Linked DNA regions of Homo sapiens: region 1 is linked to region 2. Evidence: promoter capture Hi-C in human tissues and cell types (Jung and others, 2019). All regions are on one chromosome and are shown on one strand. Each heading gives the region's core, a stretch centred on a gene start or on the middle of the fragment in contact. The rest is flanking DNA. Distances are from core to core; before and after follow the strand shown. Region 1 holds the start of IFNA13 (interferon alpha 13). Region 2 holds the start of IFNA5 (interferon alpha 5).

Region 1 (7,290 bases), core at 528-3,027, 63 kb after region 2:
AATAATAACCATATATTTATAAAATAAGAAAATAAGCATATATACATATGTTTTATATATATACACTATATATAAAATATATATATAGTGTGTGTGTGTATGTGTGTGTGTGTGTATATATATACATATATATACGTATATATATATATGTACGTATATATATACACACACACACACATACACACACACACACACACACACATACATTCTAGAGGCTGGTCTGCCTGAGATTTAGGCAGAGACACAGTTCCAGACCATATTAATCACCATTGTCTCTATTTGTCCATCCCTCTGTTTCCTTTGTGGCTCTTCTCTTCCTTCCCTTTAAAGGTGGAAGGTCCTTAGAATCACGTTTAAGTCCTTTTCTCTGTCTACACTCTCTCCACACATGAGCACTTTCATTTCTGGGATTTTGCTTGCCACATATGAACTCCCAGCAATTGCATTCCTTATAATTTGCAAACTCACATATCCAACTGGCAATAGACAGTTTCTACCACATGTTGTATCAGTCAACTTATAGAGGATATCTGTTTATTTTTATTTCCTCACATGTTTCAGTTTACCTCCTGCCGAAAGAAATCATTGTTCATTCCTTTTTCTCCTTATAGTATTCAGGATAACTGATACTAAGTATGATTACTATTTTTAGTTTTATTCCATACAAAAATCAAACATGCAAGAGAGTAGGAAGTAGATTTATTGTATTCACCTTTATAACTTGAGTACAACATACAACCTGGTTTAGAGAAAGGTCATTTTTACTTACATCTCTCATATAATAATGATGAGTAAATAAATTATACCCTTTATTCTCTCATCAGGTTGCACAGTCAGGCTAGGAATTTTGTATTAAAGAATGAACACATACAGGAAGTTCCTATAGTAAAAGTTTAATGAACAACATAAAATAATGAATTGAGTAGATATAAGGAACATGTTTTATTACACTAACCACAGTGTAAAGATGCACATGATGTTATATGAACAAAAATAATTTAAATCTTATGAATAGCTAAATAAATATTTAAATAGATAAATCAGTTTATCAGCATGGTCATAGTTATAGCAGAAGTGAGAGTCTTTGAAATGGCAGAATTCATGAAAGCGTGACCTGGTATATGAGTCAATAAGAATTGTTTCATGTTGGACCAGGTGTTATTCCTTCCTCCTTAATCTTTCTTGCAAGTTTGTTGATAAAGAGAGGGATCTCATGATTTCTGCTCTGACAACCTCCCAGGCACAAGGGCTGTATTTCTTCTCTGTCAGATAGAGAGTGATTCTTCGGAAGTATTTCTTCACAGCCAAGATGGAGTCCGCATTCATCAGGGGAGTTTCTCCCACCCTCTCCTCCTGCATCACACAGGCTTCCAAGTCATTCAGCTGCTGGTAGAGTTCGGTGCAGAATTTGTCTAGGAGGTCCTCATCCCAAGCAGCAGATGAATCTTTTGTGGTAAAGAGGTTGAAGATCTGCTGGATCAGCTCATGGAGGACAGAGATGGCTGGAGCCTTCTGGAACTGGTTGCCATCAAACTCCTCCTGGGGAAATCCAAAGTCATGTCTGTCCATCAGACAGGAGGAAGGAGAGATTCTGCTCATTTGTGCCAGGAGCATCAAGGTCCTCCTGTTATCCAGGCTGTGGGTCTCAGGGAGATCACAGCCCAGAGAGCAGCTTGACTTGCAGCTGAGCACCACCAGGGCCATCAGTAAAGCAAAGGGCGAGGCCATCATAGATATTGCAGATGCTTCTGGGCTTGCTGAGATGGGTGACTCTGAACCTTGGGCTCTAGGTTCTCTGAAGGCTTTGCTTCCTGCAGATGCCTTAAATAGGGAACATACTGATTTCCACTTTCTTAATGCTTCTGGACCACTTTCCATTTCTGTTTTTGCTTTCCTTCTTGAACTCTTTACATGAGTTTAGAGCCGTGTTTCTCAACCATTTTGTTTTTCATTATTGTCTCCCCCATCTTGTTCCCAGAGACTTTTTAGATTTTTTTTCCTAATTGAACCCACCGTGAAAATTTAATAACACAGATATAATATCTATCTATTTGTGTACTATATGTATATCTCTATACTCAAAAAGTACAAAGTTTAATCATTTTATTCAATGCAAGTTTAAAAATAACCAAATGAAAATTTTAAGATAAAAGTTAAATTTAAACGCTATTCAAATTTAACTTAACTTTATAACTAAATTTGCTTGTGGGCTTCAATATAGTTTATTTACTGATATAAATTGTAATGTATTAAATTACATAAGAAATTTAACAAATTATAAACATTATCTAATGTTTCTAGATAAACATTATACAGCTAAGTAATGAATGTTTATGAATTATTTGAAACTGATAAAGACTTAATAATTTAAAATATTTTTATCATTTATTTTTATTATACTTAACTTTTAATTTTGTTGCATGTGAGAAAATTTTTAACTTCACTAGCTGCTAGATACTCACCTAGAGAGTGTGAAGAATTTTTTCTTCAATTCTTGACCTAAATATAGATGTGTTGAACAACTTCAGTAGAATTGTTAAAATATAAATTATTTATATTTCATTTCAAAGCCCACAACACAGACAGAAATGCTAAGGATCAAACATAAGCAATATCTATAAGATGGCCAGTGACAAACCATATGTATGCAGAGGACACCTCTCATGATATGACTTTGAGATCTAATACATCTTGGAAAGTACTCCAATCACAGCTACCCATTTGCCATAGGTTTGTAATGCTGAACTTTTATACCTTTTGTGTATCTTCCATGAACTCAATGTCAGTGCTTCTCATGTGATACACAAGAAAACCCAATGGAGAGAAAAAAAAAAAAACTAAGGAATAAGATTTTGTTAAATAGGTTGAGCTTTGAAGGGCCACAAACCATTTAAATATGTAAGATTTGTTCCCACTCCCAAGAACTAACTTCTACATCCTTGGGAGTAGTATCATATGCAATGAGAATACACAATTGAAAAAACATCCTCGATTTGATTAAAAATTTTTTGCATGAAAGTTCAAATTTCCAAGGTGCCTTCAGAGGTTCTTTGCTGATTCCTAGCAAACTAAAGGAAACTATCTTTGTCCTAGATGCGCATAATAGGATGTAAATATAATAACATAAATAAGTAGACAATTGTTTTACATAGCATGCCAGACACCAGATATCTTTCTTTCTCATTTCATTTTCATAGAAAGCAAAAGTTGTCACTTTTTGCATCCTAACTAATGGGAACAAAAAGATAACACAAGTGGCCGGGCGTCGTGGCTCACATGTGTAATGCCAGCACTTTGAGAGGCCGAGGCAGACGGATCATCTGAGGTTGGGAGTTTGAGACCAGCCTGACCAACATAGTGGAGGTTAAGGGGTGGGAAAGAACAGAAGCAAAATAGTAGAAGGGATGTAGGTCAAGGTAACACGTAAGTATGGGCTGGAAGAAAAGTAATTACTCCTGGTCCACAGTGTGTTTTCAGATTTACCGAACCCCATCTTGCAAATATACCAACTGCAAGAGTTTATACACAAGAAAGAGAAATTTTTGAGAGTACAATATTCTCTCTGGAAAATGGGTCAGTGTTCATTGCACCAAGCTCTCCACTATTGGATAAGTAAACTTAGAAGGTCAGTTTTTTTCTTCTTATATTTCTAGTAAGAAACAAGAGAATTGATAATTTCAGAGGACACTTCCCTAACTTTTAATAGAGTTATATAATAAAGATAATGTTAATAAGAGAAATGAAATATCAGGCCGGGTGCGGTGGCTTACGCCTGTAATCCCAGCACTTTGGGAGGCCGAGCTGGGCAGATCACCTGAGGTCAGGAGTTTGAGACTAGCCTGACTAACATTTTGAAACACCGTCTCTACTAAAAATACAAAATTAGTCTGGTGTGGTGGCACATGCCTGTAATCCCAGCTGAAGCAGAAGAATTGCTTAAACCCAGGAGGTGGAGGTTGCAGTGAGCTGAGATCATGCCTTTGCACTCCACTTGCACCCCAGCCCAGGCAACAAGATTGAAATTCCGTCTTAAAAAAAGAAGGAATGAAATATCTAAATTGTGGAAAGTCTTTATTTATTTTCAGTCAGACACTGTTTTTAGCACTTGCATAATCAATGCTTACTTAATCAATAAAGAATATCCATTTTTCATATTTACTGAACGTCTACCATGTACCTAGCCCCATTTATTCACTAGATATATCACTGACCAAAGCACACAGTGATAGATTTTACTATTATCCCCATATGCAAAAGAAAAAAAATGAAATCCCAGGGAGCTATTAAGTTGTGGAGCCACAGTTTGGATGGAGAAAATTCAGCTCTGAAGTCTTACTTCTTACATGCTCTCTGGGACTATTTCTGGACAAAAGAACCAGAGCTGATTTCTAGGACAATCAATGTTTTCCTAGTAGAGTCCTTACTATGTAATGACAGGGTCTTTCTCTTCAGTTTCCATTTGTCTTCTTCATTGAAATGCCCCATTTGTCCATGCCAACATGTTACATTACAATTAAATTGGGCCCCACTTTACTTTCACATTATATTCTAGTTTTGTCTTCTTGAGGATACACCATCATAAGCATGAACATATTTGTAAAACATATTGTTCACCCCAGTGAATATATTCATCAACCCTTTATATTTCTGTCAATTTAAAATTCTACATAGTACTATTCTTTTAATCAAATATCCACAATACTTTAGATTTCCCCATGTGTAGCACAAATTTAAGAAAGAACGAGTCACTGTCAGGCTAGAGACATGAACTAAATCAGAACTAAACCAAGGAACTAAGGCTCAGAGCTCAGGGAGAGCACACCTGGAAAGGTTGACTAAAGGGATTATTAAAGGTGTGGAAATGGAAACACTTCTAGAGAAATTAGGATAGTCCATGGCATTAGAGAATGAGGACTGAGATGACAAAAGACCCTGAGTCACCTGACTTGCCAGCTGGTTGATGCTTTTTATGTTGCAGGTCACCAGAGTGTGCTGCAGTGTTGATTGTACTGCCTTAATTTAAGGATCTGGTAAAGAAAAATTTATGCTGACACTTGGTATAACAGTAAAGAAGACTTATTCAGAAGTATTGCAACAGGCGTCAAAACTATCACAATAGGTGTATTAGTTCTTGCACTACTATACAGAAAAACCTGAGACTGGGTAACTTAGAAAGAAAAGAGGTTTAATTGGCTCATGATTCTGCAGACCATACAGGAAGCATGGCTACGGAGGCCTCAGGACACTTACAATCATGGCAGAAGGCTAAGGGGAAGCAGGCATGTCCTGCATGACTGGAGCAGGAGGAGAGAAGCAGGGGAGGTGCTGCACAATTTTAAACAACCAGATCTTGGAATAACTCACTCTTACCATGACACCACCAGGGGGATGGTGTTAAACCGTGAGGAACCGCCCTATGATCCAATCACCTCCCACCAGGCCCCGCCTCCAACACTGGAGATTACAATTCCATGTGAGATTTGGAAGGGGATGCTGACCCAAACCATATCAATAGGGGAGAGAGACCAATTGGTGCTCAGCTCAAAAATCAGCAAAGAGAGCCTGGGGTTTATACCCAACAAGCAGAATGAGGGGTCAGATAGAAAATCAGTAAAAGGAGACATCAAAGGCAGGGGGATCCTTCCTAAGCTGAACATAATTCTTTCTAAAGGCAAGCCAGGGTAATTACATATTGAGTGTGTGGGATGAACAATTTGATCATATATCAAGGGTAAATCAGCTATCAAGCGTGGAAGCATTCTCATAAAACTAACTTAGTAAGATTCCTGCTACAACTGGACTTGGCAGACCTAAGAATGGACCCAAAGGCACGAGCCAGTCAACGAGAGAGTTTGGAGGAGACTGACTAAAGTTTGGCAAAGGACAGAGTCATTGTCAGAACCTTAAGGGGTAAGAGACAGAACTGTCTGCTAAACAGTTACAAGGGAGATTAAATTTTATGTCTTTTGAAAACAATACCATTTAATGAAAGATTTTAATCAGTGAAATAAATATTTTTAAAATTTTAATCAGTAATGTTAAAAATTCTGGAAGCCGATTCATTTTTATCTTGTATTTCGAAACAATTCTAGACCTATAGAGAGTTGCAAAGATAGTACAGGGAGTTCTCTTCCCTTCACTCAGCTTCTCCTAATGTTAACAACTTACATAGCCATGAAACAATGATCAAAACTAAGAAATTAAAAGTGGTGCATTAATATTTGCTAAACTTGGCCAGTCACTGGTGGCTTACACCTGTAATCCCAGCACTTTGGGCGGCCAAGGCGGGTGGATCGAGGTCAAGAGATTGACACCATCCTGGCCAACACTATGAAACCTTGTCTCTACTAAAAATACAAAAATTAGCTGGGCTTGTTGGCTCCTGCCTGTCGTCCCAGCTACTCAGAGGCTGAGACAGGAGGATCGCTTGAACCCGGGAGACTGAGGTTGCAGTGAGCTGAGATCGCGCCGCTGACCTCCAGCCTCGGCGGCAGTGCGAGATTCCGTCTCGAAAAAAAAAAAAAAAAAAAAAGAAAAAACAAACAAAGAAAAAATTTGCTAAACTTCAGGCTTCATTGTGATTTCCTTAACTTTTTGACTGATGTCCTTTTTCTGATTTAAGATTCAATCCAGGGTCCCATATTACATTTCATTGTCACATCTCTTTATTCTCCTCTCATCTATAACATGGGCTGAGTCTTTCCTGACTTTCATGACCTGGGGACTATTAAAGAATATTGGTCAGTTACTTTGTAGGATGTTCCTCAATTTGGATGTGTGGAATTTTCTCATGGTTACATTATAGATTTAATGGATGAATACAATGGAGTACATGCTCATTACATCGAATAATATAGGAAGCATACAATATCAATAACTTATTGCTGCTGATATTAAATGAATCACTTGGTTAAGTTGTTGTCTGCCAGGTTTCTCCTATGTAAAATTACTATTTGTCCCTTTCCATACTGCTTGTGTCAGAAACATATCACGAATATGAGCCCACATTAAAGGGAGGATAATTACATAGAGAACAATGTATACAAGAATTTGTTGATGTATATTAAAACATCACAGTAATTTTTTTTCTCTTCTCTTTTTTTTATTATTATTATACTTTAAGTTTTAGGGTACATGTGCACAATGCGCAGGTTAGTTACATAGGTATACATGTTCCATGCGGGTGTGCAGCACCCATTAACTCGTCATTTAGCATTAGGTATATCTCCTAAAGCTATTCCTCCCCCCTCCCCCCACCCACCAACAGTCCCCAGAGTGTGATGTTCCCCT
Region 2 (7,271 bases), core at 2,351-4,850:
AAAAGACCTGGTAATATTTCTACTGAAACGATTCCAACAAATTGAGGAGGAAGCACTCCTTCCTAACTTATTCTATGTGGTCACCATCATCCTGACACCAAAACTGGCCAGAGATACAACAAGAAAAGGAAAACTTCAGGTCAATATCCTTGATGAACACTGATGTAAAAATCCTTAAAAAAGATACTAGCAAATGAAATACAGCACATCAAAAAGCTAACCCACCACAATTAAATAGGCTTTATCTCTGGGATGCAAGGTTGTTTCAAAATACACAAATCAATAAATGTGATTCATCAAATAAACAGAACTAAAGAGAAAAATATATTATTATCTCAATAGATGCAGAAAAGGCTTTTGATAAAATTCAACACCTCTTCACATTAAAAATTCTCAATAAACTAAGTATTGAAAGAATATACCTCAATATAATAAGAGCCATCTATGACAAACCCACAATCAACATCATATTGAATAGGCAAACCTGGAAGCTTTCCCCTTGAAAACTGGCACAAGACAAGAATGTCCTCTCTCACCAGTACTATTCAACATAGTACTGGAAGTCCTGGCTGGAGTAATCAGGCAAGAGAAAGAAATAAAGGACATCCAAATAGGAAGAGAAGTCAAATTATCCTTGTTCACAGATGGTATAATTCTCTATATAGAAAACCCCATATTCTCTGCCCAAAAGCTCCTCGAGCTGATACACAACTTCAGCAAAGTTTCAGGATACAAAATCAATGCACAAAAATTACTAGCATTCCCATACACCAACAACAGTCAAGCTGAGAGCCAAATCCTAAATGCAGTACATATATACCATGGAATACTATGCAGTCAAAAAAGAACAAGATCTTGTCTTCTATGGGAACTTGGATGGAGGTGGAGGCCATTATCCTAAGCAAACTAATTCAGGAACAGAAAATCAAATACTGGATGTTCTCACTTATAAGTGGGAGCCAAATATTAAGTATATATGGACACAAAAAAAGGAGCAACAGACACAGGGGCCTACTTGAAGGTGGAGGGTGGGATGAGAATGAGAATTGATAAACTACCTATTGTGTACTATGCTTATAACCTAGGTGATGAAATAATTCATACTCCAAATGTCTGTGACATGTAATTTATCTATATAGCAAACCTACACATCTACCCCTGAACCTAAAATAAAAGTTTAAAAGAAAATAACAGTGATATGTATTGCTTTTTTAATGTAGAAAGTATATTTTCAAAAGAAAACTGAGGCTCAGAGAGATTAAGTGGTTTTCTGAACATCACGCTTACATGTAAGCAGAATGTAATTTCAATGTAAAATTCTTTATTTTTATTTACACCTGAGGTATAAGCTTTGTATTCAGGATTTCTGTAATAATTATTACATCTCCTCTTACTACTGAGTTATATGCAACTCTCTGCCGCACTCTGAATTTCTCTTTGGTTCACGTATTTTCAGCTGGTTTTGGCCAAAAGTATAAAGAGATTCTCTCATCCAGTTTCCCATTTTATTTCATGAGGGAAGTTTGTCATTTTTTCCTGACATGTAACATAGTATTAATCAAAATAATAATAAATTATTATGCAAATAATATTATGATTTAAATACATAAAATATTAAACATATTAACATGACTTGCCAATAGATTGAATCCACGAACTCTATTTTCAAAAAAGAAAAACTATGTAGATAAAAAATAGTACACATTCTTTTTCAAGTCCAACCTTATTTCCCCCCTCCATTTCCATGGCAAACATGTCACAATTATTTCCTACATATGGTTATCACTGATTTCTCTTCTCTGATTCACTCTTCCACCTACTCCAGTATGGTTTGTACTGATTAATTCTGCCAATCCAGCTCTCACCAAGATCTCCACCGCCATCTATTTTTCTGATGTTCTGGGCAGTTTTAATCCACATTTCCCATAAGTCTATTGATTCTTCTTCTAAGTACATTTATTTTCTAAATACATTTTTATCATCATTCCCTCTTGTCCTTCTAATGTTTAAGGTATTCCACCTCTGTTTCCTTTGTGTCTCTCCTCTTCCCTCTCTTTAATGGTGGAAGGTCCTCAGAATCTAGTTTAAGTCTTATTTTCTTCTCTACATTGGCTCCTCACATGACAGCCTCCATTTTTAGGCATTTGGTTGCCAGTTATGATCCTCCAGACATTGTATTCCTTGGATATTGCAAACTCATGTATCTGACTAGCAATGCACATTCGCAATTACATGTTTAAAAGTCAGTTTAGAGAGGCTAGCTCTGCTTTTATTTTTCTTTCTGGACGTGCCTCTATCTGCGTTCTGCTGAGAGCAATTCACTGTTTTTTTTCCTAGCTCACATTATAGCATTTAACATAACTCATATTAATCATAATTATTGTTGTTAAATTTCTGGCAAAAATCAAAGATACAAGGGAACAGGAATTGTATTTATTATGTTCACTTAAGAAAAATCTTCCTTTACTTAAAATTTGAATAAAATAATGATAGGTAACTGAACTGTACCATCTGTTTTTAATCAAGTTATACAATCAGGCTTGGAGTTTCATTTTAAAGAATAAACAAACAATTAATAGTAAAAATCTAATGAACAAAGCAAAATAATCAGTTGACAAAACATAAAGAACATATTTTATTATATTAGCCACAAAGTAAAGGTGGATGTAATATTACCTGAACAAACATAATTTAAAATAATTTAAATCTTATAAATAAATAAATATTTAAATAGATTAGATAGAAGACAGACAGATAGATAAATAGATAGAATAGATAGATTGGCATGATCATCTGTAAAGATTTTGTCCCTGTGGAGCTAAAGAAGTGTTGCTTAACACGTGTGAAACGTTTGAAAATTTTGATTCAACTCAAGTCATGGATATAGCAGAAATTAATATTTGAAACGGCAGAACTCAAGAAGTGTGAAATGGTGTACTAGTCAATGAGAATCATTTCGATGTTGAACCAGTTTTCATTCCTTCCTCCTTAATCTTTCTTGCAAGTTTGCTGATAAAGAGAAGGATCTCATGATTTCTGCTCTGACAACCTCCCATGCACAAGGGCTGTATTTCTTCTCTGTCAGATAGAGGGTGATTCTTTGAAAGTATTTTCTCACAGTCAGGATAGAGTCCACATTCATCAGAGGAGTGTCTTCCACTCCAACCTCCTGCATCATACAGGCTTCCAGGTCATTCAGCTGCTGGTAAAGTTCAGTGTAGAATTTGTCTAGAAGTGTCTCATCCCAAGTAGCAGATGAGTCCTTTGTGCTGAAGAGATTGAAGGTCTGCTGGATCATCTCATGGAGGACAGAGATGGCTTGAGCCTTCTGGAACTGGTTGCCATCAAACTCCTCCTGAGGAAATCCAAAGTCATGTCTGTCCTTCAGGCAGGAGAAAGGAGAGATTCTTCCCATTTGTGCCATTATCATCAAAGTCCTCCTGTTACTCAGGCTGTGGGTCTGAGGCAGATCACAGCCCAGAGAACAGATTGACTTGCAGTTGAGCACCACCAGGGCCATCAGTAAAACAAAGGGCAAGGCCATTGGGGAGGTTGCAGATGCTTCTGGGCTGTTGAGATTGAGTGACCCTGAACCTTGGGCTCTTCTCTGAAGACCTTGTTTTGTGCACAGATCTTAAAAAGGTCACATACGAGTTTCCATTTTCTGAATGCCTTGTGTTACTTTCTACTTCTCTTTTTGCTTTCTTTTATGCTCTTTCTACATAGATGTACAGGAGTGTTTCTCAGTTTATTTATTTTTACATTATTACCTCATCTTCCTCTGCCACATATGCTTTTTAGAAATTTTTTTTCTAACTAAAAATCCCATTAAATTTTAATAACACAGATATACTATGTGTTGGCTGATGTATATACATTACAGTACCCATTATCGAGAGAGAATATTGTACTTCTTTAATGCTTTAAAAGCAGCGTAATAGAATGTAAAATAGAATTTATTCAGTCCCGGATTAAGAATGAGCAAATGAAAATTCTAAGGTAAAAGTTAATAATTAAATTTACAATTTATGGATATTTAACTTCATAGTTCAATTTGTTTAAGTAACAATGTGATTTATTTACTTATATAAATTGTAGTGTGTCAGATTAAATAAGTAAATTAACAAATTATGAAAATATATAATATTGCCTAGTATAATGAAATATTTAAAAATTCAAAATAGCTAAAGACTATTAAAATTGAAATTATTTGTAACATTTATTTTTAGGGTACTTTCAATTTTGCTTCATAGGGAAATTTAAAAAATTCACTAGCTTCTAGATATTGATCTAGATATTGTCAAAAACCTTTTTCTCTTCAGTGCTTGACATAATTATTGATGTGTTGAACAACTTTAGTAGAATTAAATAGTAAAAGATAAAGTATTTTTATTGAAACCTCAAAACTCAAAACACAGTCATAAATGCTCAGGATCAAATATAAGCAACATACACAAGACAGCAAATGACAGCTCATATGTATACAGAGGCCACCTCACATGATATGACTTTGACATCTAATAAATCTTGGAAAGTCCTCCAATAACAGCCACCCATTTGCCATATGCTTGTAGCACTGATCTTGTATACCTTTTGTGTATCTTCCATGAACTCAAGGTCAATGCTTCTGATGTTACAAGAAAACCAAATTAGGCCAGGCGCGGTGGCTCACATCTGTAATCCCAGCACTTTGGGAGGCTGAGGTGGGTGGATTACAAGGTCAGGAGATCAAGACCCTCCTGGACAACATGGTGAAAGCCCGTCTCTACTAAAAATACAAAAATTAGCTGGGCGTGGTGGCACGTGCCTGTAATCCCAGCTACTCGGGAGGCTGAGGCAGGAGAATTGCTTGAACCAGGGAGTCGGAGGTTGCAGTGAGCCGAGACCACCCCACTGCACTCCAGCCTGGCAACAGAGCGAGACTCCGCCTCAAAAAGCAAGCAAACAAACAAACAACAACAACAAGAACTCAATTAAAAAAATACTAAGGAATAAAGTTTTGTCAGACAGAGTTGAACTTTAGAGGGCCCCAAGAAATAACTTTTACATTCTTGGAAGCAATATTATACTTAATGAGTATATGCAATGGAGAAAAATGTCATCAATTTGATTTTAAAAATATTATTTGTCATGAAAGGTCAGATTTCCAAAGAACCCACAGAGGTTCCAATTCTAGTTGATTCTCCTCAAACTGAAGAAAACCATTTTTGTCCTAAATGTCCATAGTGTAATGTAAATGTGATAGCATGAATGGGTTGTACAATTGTTTACATAGCATGCAGGATACCAGAGATCTTTCTTTCTCATTTTCATTTTCATTGAAAGTAAAGGTTGTCTCTTTTTGAATCCTTAAGAATGGAGACAAAAAGAAAAATGTATATCTAAATGTGATTTTAAAAATCCTACAGAATGGAGATAGAAAGAAAACAAATGTGTATCTAAATGTGATAAAAGAATCCTGATTCTTTTCTGGTCACTTGGGCTAGGAGATTCTAATCCTAAGTTAATTTGTTAGTTTTATTTTCCCCAGCACCATCTCACTCACAAGGCAGTTATCACAGTCAGTAACACCCTTTTCTCTAGAGTGACAATATCCTCTAGAGAGACAATATCTCACTGGGAAAAAAAGGATGACAAAATGCAACTTTCCTACATTCATCCCAGTAAAGAAGGAGATAAAGGAATGGGGAAGAGGAGAAGCAAAATCGTAGAAGATATGTAGATCAAAGGGAACAAATGGGTATGAGCTGAAAAAAAAGAGTAATCATTCCTGGTCCACGCAGTGTTTTCAGCTTTGCTGAATCCAGCCTTCATGGAGTCACACCAATCGCAAGAATTTGTACATAAAAAAAGGGCAATTTTTAAAAGAGTACCATGTACTCTTTGCATAATGAGTAAGTGTTAATTCTCAAGTTCTCCCTTAGTGTATAAATACATTCAAGAGATCAATATTTCCCTTATTATGTTTTTTACAGGAATCAAGGGAGTTAACAATTTTAAAGGACACTTCCCCCAATTTAATAAAGTTTAATAATGAAGATAATGTTTAAAAAAGGAAGGAGACAGGTAAATTGATGAAGGTGTTTATTTTCAGTCAGATATTGTTCTTAGAACTTACAGATTTGATTCTCATTTTACCAATAATGAATATCCTCTTTTTGTATTAACTGAACCCCTACCATATACCTACCCACCATTTATTCACTGGAGATATCAGTGACCAAAGAAGACTGATAGGTTCTACTATTATTCCTATTTACAAAAGAAAAAACAGAAGAACAGTGAGGTATTGAATTTGAGGCTACTATTTAAACCCCAAAATTGGACTCTAAATCCTCAGCTCTTACATGGTCTTTGGGAATATTTCTGGTCATAAGAACTGATTTCTGCATTGGTCAGTGTTTTCCCAGGAGAGTCCTGCCTAAGTAATGACAGGGTCTTTCTCTTCAGCTGTTCTTTTTTACTGAAACGTCCCATTTGCTTTTGCCAACATGTTACATTACAATTAAATTAGACCCCATTTTACTTACACACTATATTCTAGTTTTTTCTTCTTGAGAATGTATTTCCATAAGCTTGAATGTATTTGTAAAATACTTGGTTCATCATAAGCAACTCTTTGAAACCCTATGTATATCTACTCATTTATTCAAATATCCATAATACTTTAGATTTCTACCAGTTTAGTGCAAACCTAAGTAAGACTAAGCCATGATCGGGATATAAATATGATCTAAATCAGAAATAAACCAATAAGCTAAGGCTCAGAGATCAGGAAAAAAACCCTCTGGAAGGGCTGCCTAATAGGATTGGAGGTGTGCAAATGGGAAGCACTTCTGGAGAAATGTAGAGAGTCCAGGGCATTAGAGGAGGAGGACTGCAATGACAAAAGGTTCTGAGTTACCTGACTTTCCAGCTGGCTGATGCCTTTTATGTTGTAGGTCAGCAGAGTTTGCTACTGTGATGATTGTGCTGGCTTACATTGAGAAACTGGTAGAGAAAAAATTATGCTAACACTTGGTATTACAGTAATGAAGACTTTATTTAGGACTATTGCGACAGATGTCAAAACTATCACAATAGGGGAGAGAGATCAATCTGGGCTCAACTCTGAATATGACACAGACAGCCTGGGATTTGTAACCAACAAGCAGAATGACAGGATCTGTGGATGGAAAATCAATAAGAAATATGGCCATTGGGAGGGCCATTGGGAAATGAGGGTTCTGCAGGCCTGGCTGAGCTGGGGTCTGGTTGAACTTTGGAACCTA

What was found. The method cuts DNA at HindIII sites, captures the fragments that hold promoters and counts their contacts. A contact is called where the count stands out against the background at its distance.
Region 1: a contact is called between the fragment with the promoter of IFNA13 here and the fragment with the promoter of IFNA5 in region 2, in 1 of the 25 tissues and cell types used here (neural progenitor cells).

The regions. Positions count from the first base shown.
Region 1 is chr9:21,366,280-21,373,569 of GRCh38, forward strand. IFNA13 (interferon alpha 13) reads right to left here and starts at 1,778. Exons shown (of 1, transcript NM_006900.4): 1 at 1,093-1,778. The coding sequence starts at 1,731. The coding sequence ends at 1,159. The HindIII fragment of the contact is 15,253 bases long and covers 1-7,290 here.
Region 2 is chr9:21,301,713-21,308,983 of GRCh38, forward strand. It overlaps IFNA5 (interferon alpha 5), which reads right to left and starts at 3,601. Exons shown (of 1, transcript NM_002169.3): 1 at 2,614-3,601. The coding sequence starts at 3,544. The coding sequence ends at 2,975. The region is part of intron 2 of LOC107987053 (a long non-coding RNA gene); the gene reads left to right. The HindIII fragment of the contact is 6,884 bases long and covers 921-7,271 here.